Regions from separate parts of the Homo sapiens genome. Here region 1 is linked to region 2. Evidence: promoter capture Hi-C in 16 types of primary human blood cells and fetal thymus (Javierre and others, 2016). All regions are on one chromosome and are shown on one strand. The core of a region is centred on a gene start or on the middle of the fragment in contact, and the rest is flanking DNA. Distances in the headings are between cores, read along the strand shown. Region 1 holds the start of LINC00523 (long intergenic non-protein coding RNA 523). Region 2 holds the start of SLC25A47 (solute carrier family 25 member 47).

Region 1 (3,462 bases), core at 21-2,520, 330 kb after region 2:
TTTGGCTGCTATCAGCTGGCTCACTGGTGAAAACCTCAGAGCTTTTTTTTTTTTTTTTGGTGGGAATTAGAGCCCATGATGGGTGCATGTATTTGGAAACCATAACACTCCATTGGCACATGCGAGAGTGGTTTGCGATGGAACTCAGTCCTCACAACACTGAGGAAACACAGTTGGGAGACTGAGGCACACAGAGAAGGTGGCTCACCCAGGGCCACACGGCAGGGAGATGTGGCAGCTCTGATGGGGACGTCCAGCCTGGTGGCATCTCAGCATACACAGTTAGGGGGTTCCTCTTAGAGAGAAGGAATACAAAATCCTGCGGCGGTGGATATTCAGACATGTGTGGAGTCCCAGCAAGTGGTCCATTCTATATTAGGCAAATATTAGAGACGGCAACGCAGCCAGGCCCTCCCTGCCAGGAAGTGTGGAAACCCTGAGGAATCAGCACCCGCTGTCACTCGAACCCAGGCCTGGACTCCTGCCCCAGTGCTCTTTCCACCAAAGCACCTTCCTCGAATGCACCCGGTTTCCTGGGAGTGAGCTTCTTTGCCACTGGAATGAACAAAAAATCCAGATGAGGATTTCAGGGTGGCTCTGCCCTGCCTGCCTCACACCGCCCTTTCCAGAACAGGCGGGGGAGCGCGAGGCAGGGCGGTTCTCGCTTGGAGACGGGTGGGTGGACTGGAGGGCAGAGGCAGGCTCTGGGTTCTGCACCCATTTACATATCCCCTGCGCACTGTCCGGAGCACTCCTTCCCTTCCCTGGTTCCTCAAGGCACGGCTCCCCCAGGCAGATGAAAGCTTAATAGAGTTTTGCGACATGAAAGTCAGTCGGAGGAAAGAGCCTTGAACAGTTGTGCGTGAGAGAGAGGCAAGCGCCCGAAATTATTTTACGACAAAGGCAGCTCTCTCTGCCACAGAGGCACAGAGGAGAAAGGAGCCCAGGAAACGGGTCATTTCTTTCGTGGAAAAATGGAAATGCTCTGAAGCATTTTGGGAGACGTGCTGTGAAGCAGGTGACACCAGAAGACAAGGACACTGGGGGCTCCCTGCCGGGAGGCGCAAAAAGCAACTCCCGTTCGAGGGTCAGAGGAGCCTGGATGCTAATGTCTCTCCAAAGTGACTTGGAGCCAACTGCCGGAAAGGCCATGCCCTTAGGAGCACAGGCAGGTCCCAGCTCAGGTGAGCCTGAACCTTCTGCCCCATCAGGAGGTTCCAGTGGGAGGAGCTCAGGTGGGGAGGAGTCGGAAGTCAGGATTTCATGCCTCCCTCATTGGCTCTGGGGTTCCCTTTAAGGTGGACACTCGGTGTGGGCAGTGGGAGGCAAGAGTGAAGCAGAGGAGAGCAAGCGTGGTGGTTTAGCAAAGTAAAGCAAAGTAAACCTGGAGGGAGCAAATGACTTTGTCCTGGGTGTGAAAGGGTAAGGCCCCATTGTAGGTCATTTATTCATTCAACAAACACGGGTTGAACTGTGTCTTGGGCTGGCCTCAGAGAAGCTCAAGAAAAGAAAGATGCTGTCATTGCCCCGAGGAGCCACTGTCTGGCATGCAGGCCAACTGTGACAAGCTGTGGTCCAGGTGAGGTGGGGTCTGGACAAGCCAGGAGGGGTTCACTGTGGATGAGCCAGGGAATGGGGAGAGGCCCCAGAGACGGGCTATGAAGACCAGTCTTGGGGCAAGAACAGTAGGTGGGGAGGGGAGGGAGAACCTTCCAGCAGGAGGATGCACCTGTGGCTAAAGCTTGGAGGTGCAGGGAACGCCCCCAAGCACCTGGGGCCACAGTGCAGGGTGTGGCCAGGACAGGAGTCCTGGAGCTGGACAGCCTGAGGGGCCACATGGTGCTGGGCTCTGTTCCCGGTGGGGAGGGGTGGGACTGTCCCTGTGGACAGCAGGGGGCTACTAGGGGCCCTGGGGAGTGGCAGTGAGGGCAGATACAGGATGTGGCCAGGTGGCGCTGGCTCAGGCAAGTGGGATGGGGAGGGGAGCAGAGGCTGCAGCCAGGAGGGCAAAGGGGAGGTGGCTAGGCCATGGAGGGGAGGAGGAGCATGGGGAGAGCAGCATTGGGGGAGCTCCAGAAGGCCCCTGGTGTCAGAACAGAGGGCAGACCTGCTCCTCCTCCTCCCTCCCTCTCTGCAGCTGCAGCCGGAAGGGCCTTGTCCCTGGGAGGGCTGCCTTGACTCCTCCCCTCCAGCCCAGGTGACTTCCGTGCCTCTCTGTGTCCTCCAGGGTGCTGGGCCCCTGGCCAGCCTGTGGCTCCTCCATGCCCCTGAGTGTGTGGGCAGCTCTGCGGGATGAGAGGATGTCAGGGCAGGGCCCACCCTGAGCTAAGTCCAGTTGTCATGGATTTTCCTTTGTTTATTCCATCTTGGGGTCAGACCTAGCCCAGTGCTGGCCAACCCAGCAGTTGTGCTAGCCCAGGACATATACGGGAGGTCTCATGTGTGGCCCGAGCCCACCCTGTCTCGGTCCAGGACTAGGAGGCTGAGGGTCTGGCTGGGGGCAGCATCCCTGGACAGTGGGTGTGGCCAGGGGGGCTCCTTGCCGGGGGATATGCCACAGAGCCCCGCTTCACCACTCAGGGCTGTCCCCGTCCAGTTGCAGGGGACCTGCAAAGTTTGCTCCCCCATGGGGACCTGCAAAGTTTGATGGGTCTGTGTGGGAGTCACTTGGCAAAAAGGGGACTGGCTCCTGCGAGAATTCCCAAGAGGATTCGAAATCCCTGGAGCTTGCCAGACTTCTGCTAGCTGGGGCCAGGGCACTGCCGTGACTCCTCAGTTCTCCCGCTAGGGAGATGGGGCTAAAAGTCTTGCTCTGCCCACCGCAGGGTCTTCTTGGGAGAATAAAACGAGGCCAAGCGTCTCCAGAAAGCTTGGGGCTTCTGCGATCAGGGGGTTGGGATGGAGGCCCCACAGAGCCAGTATCAGCAGAGCAGGGCAATAACCCACATTTCATAATCCTTGAACTTGGACAAACAGACACTGGGTCCCATGTCAGCAGGCCTAAGGCCGGAAGGGTGGCTCGCCACCTTCTGAAGACAGGGATCAGAGGCCCAGACAGGGATTCCGGGGCCTTGGGGCCCCAGCACCATGCCCGAGCTCCACGTGAGAAGATGAGCTCAGGCCTCCGCTCCCTCTAAGCTGGTGGGTGGGAATTTGGGATGGGATTTGTGCGAGGTGAGGAAAATTGTTTCTAGTTTCCTCCTTATGGGGCCTGAGCTGGGCCCCTGTGTCTACCACTGGGGCAGGCCTGGGCCCAGCTGTGGATAGCTGCCATGCCGGCCACTTCACCTCTGGCTCTGCCAAGCCTTGTCCCCGTGGGGCCGCCCTCCACCCCGGCTCTACTGTGCCAGAAAGGAGGCCCCAGAGGCCAGGAGGCACCTGGTCAGCCCACACCTACACCGGCCAAGTAGCAGGTGGACTTTTCACGTGGGAAGCCAGACCAAATCTCTGGGCTCCATTTTC
Region 2 (3,046 bases), core at 376-2,875:
CGGACTTTGCCCTGCGTGGTCGCAGATATGAGGCAGGTACTCTCTTCATTTCATGGATGCAGAAGCTGAGGCACAGAGTGGTCAAGGGGCTGGCCCACGGTCTCAGCTGTGAGTGGCAGAGCTGGGCTTTAAAGGCAGGCAGCCAGCTTCTAACCAGATGCTAAGCTTCATCCCCTTGAGGGCCAGGACTAGCATTGGGACTGGCCTTGGATGGGCCACTTCCCGCCCTTTGCCCTCTGCCGTGGCAGCTGGCACTGCTCATCCTGTGTCTCCCACTTGCCTATAAATAGCCGGGCTGGCAGGGGGGCTGTCCCTCCATCAGCTCTCAGCCTGCTCAAGGCCAGCCTGCAGGTCCAGCCATTAGAGGACAGGAAAACAGGTAGACAAAGAGCCTCCTGGCCTTGCCACCTGTCCCGAGGGCTGCCCAGATGGGCTGCCTGGGCCTCATGCATCAACACCTGCCCCTCCCCTATCCTGCTGGCATTCCAGTCTGTGGGGCACTCACTTAGATTCTGTTGCTCAGCAGCTGTGTGGCCGAGGTACCTGCACAGCCTCCCTGAGCCTTGGTGTCTCACGTGGAGATCTCACAAGGATGCAGTGCAGGTCACATGGGGCATGCACTGAGTCCCCTTGAGAGCCCTCTGGGGCCTCCCCAGGCGGGCCTGGATATCCCAGAGGGTGGGTTGTATGAGAGCATCTGGGGATCACATCCAGCCCTGCCGCCCTCGTGGCCTTGGACAAGCCCCCTTTCTGGGCCTCAATGGCCCCATCTGTGAAATGGGGAGCACTAACGCTGCGCTGTCTCCCTCCTGGGGCGGTGAGGAGGATCCTAGAGCCTGAGAGTGAGGGGAGCTTGGTGAACTGTAAGGTGGGGTGCACGGGCAAGGAGGTCCCTGTTTTTACAGTGCCCAGCAGACAGAAGTAGCGTCTTAGTGGAGAGGTTTCCCCTTCAGGAGGGCCCCAGCCGCTGGTTCAGAGGCTGAATCGGCAGCCTCTGTCCCTGGTTCATGTGGGCAGGGGGACTTGGTGGAGGCAGCCTTGGCCTTCGCCTCTGGGTCCAGGGAGACACATTCCCATGGAGCAGAGAGCAGGGAACCGGGGCAGCGGGAAGGGTGAGAGCAGATGGTGGGTGCTGTTCCTGGGTTCAGGCCTGTCCTTGCCACCCCCTCCCTCCCTGCCAACTGGAGCTCCTTGAGGACAGGGACTGGCTCTCATTTGCCTGGGTGTAGCATCAGCAAAGTAAGTGTTTTTTGAGTGAGTAAGAGAGGGAGCTTTGCAGGTTTCCCAGGCAGGGGTCCTGAGCAAATCCAGGGGAGTCGGGAAAGCCCAGGGGACACAGTGAAGGCCTGGGCTTGGACCTGGAGGGCGAGAGCTGTCACAGCCCCATCTCTGGACCTTCCCAGGAGGTGTTTGGATGTGATGGGGCAGTGCCCCTGCTCTCTGGTGCCTGTCACCTCCCGTGCTCTCTCCTGTGTTTTCCTGACACCTGGGTCCCGAGGGCACTGGGACAAGGGTCCCGGGGGCAGGGAGGGAGTCCAGCTGTGTGCCGCGTGGCCTCAGCAGGCTCTGCTTCCGGTCCCCTCCCCTGCCGCAGGTATTTAAGGTCTGAGAGGGGCCAGCTGGGAGCTGTTGAGGCCACCCTGGTGGCACCAAAGCCCTCTCAGGCAGGCAGACCCAGGGCCTCCCCGCCACACCTTGTTCATGGATTTTGTCGCTGGAGCCATCGGAGGTAACAGACAGGATGGTGGGCTGTGCAGACACTGCTGCTCCTGGGGGTAGCAGGAGGAACTGAGGTCCAGGAAGGTGCTGGGCAGCAGGGTGGGCTTTGAGGAGCCCCTCACCCCCCAGGATCTGCCAGGAGCAGAGAGCAGGTTCCTGGGAGGCTAAGGCTGGGTGAGGGGTGCTGCAGGGCCTGGGGGGCTGCACTGGCCTGGGAGGCTCAGACAGGAGGCTGAGGGCAGGCTGGGGATGGGGCTGTGGTCTAGGCATGGGGGCCGCTCGGGAGGCAGAGTCAGGGAGGCTGGGAGTCCTTGGTGTGGGGAGGGGTGATTGAGTCACTGGAAGGGAAAGAAGACCCCAGGAGAGGATCGAGAGGGTGGGGAGATGGGTAGGGAAGATGGGCCTGGTCCTGCAGCAGGGACTGGAAGGGGCGGGCAGAGGACGGTAAGGGGCCTGGCGAGGTGGCTCCACCTGCCCTGCTGGGTGTGTGCACCTGGCTAGGCCTCCAGAGCCTGCTTCTCAGGCCAGACTCTGCTGGAGAAACCGTTCTCCCTCCTGGGGAAGGGCTCCTGGTGAAAGACTGATTCAGGGAGATAACCAGGCCCTGGGACACGGGCTCAGCTCCATCCCGTGGGCTGTGGGGGCTGTTCTGAGTGGGCACTCCTGCCCTTGCTGGTCTTGTGAAACATCGGTGGGTGGCGTCAGTACTTCTGGAAACAGCATGGGGGTTGGGAGAGCGGCCCAGCTCTGGCCCTGGGAGAAGGCAGAGTACCTGCCCCATTAACAGGCTTTTTCTTTTTTTTTTCCCTTGAGATGGAGTCTTGTTCTGTCGCCTAGGCTGAAATGCACTGGCGTGATCTTGGCTCACTGCAACCTCTGCCTCCTGGGTTCAAGTGATTCTCCTGCCTCAGCCGCCCAAGTAGCTGGGATTACAGACATGCACCACAATGTCTGGCTAATTTTTGGGTTTTTAGTAGAGGCAGGGTTTTACCATGTTGGTCAGGCTGGTCTCAAACTCCTGACCTCAAGCGATCCGCACGCCTCAGCCTCCCAAAGTGCTGGGATTACAGGCGTGAGCCACTGCGCCCGGCCTCCATTAGCAGCCTTTCTCAGCCCCAGCTAGGTGCCAGCCTGGGGCCAGCCGCTCCCTTCCTCAGGGAAGCTACTGGACTTGCCTGACATCACACAGCTGGAAAGGGCTCCTGAGTCTGGCATCTTTCCTCCGGAGCCATGAGGAGGCCTAGGTAAAGGGCTCTCACTCTGTGCCTGGCCCTGGGTCATGGGGTGTCAGCCCTCGGCCGTGTCCTTGGAGAACTCCAGTTCTGGA

The links. Contacts are between HindIII fragments. The CHiCAGO score rates a contact against its expected background, and 5 or more counts as called.
Region 1: a contact is called between a fragment that was not itself captured here and the fragment with the promoter of SLC25A47 in region 2, in 1 of 17 cell types (monocytes). The highest score is 6.8, in monocytes.

Annotation. Positions count from the first base shown.
Region 1 is chr14:100,656,527-100,659,988 of GRCh38, forward strand. LINC00523 (long intergenic non-protein coding RNA 523) reads left to right here and starts at 742. Exons shown (of 2, transcript NR_024096.1): 1 at 742-1,184. The HindIII fragment of the contact is 938 bases long and covers 802-1,739 here.
Region 2 is chr14:100,321,714-100,324,759 of GRCh38, forward strand. SLC25A47 (solute carrier family 25 member 47) reads left to right here and starts at 1,626. Exons shown (of 6, transcript NM_207117.4): 1 at 1,626-1,729. The coding sequence starts at 1,702. The HindIII fragment of the contact is 12,472 bases long and covers 164-3,046 here.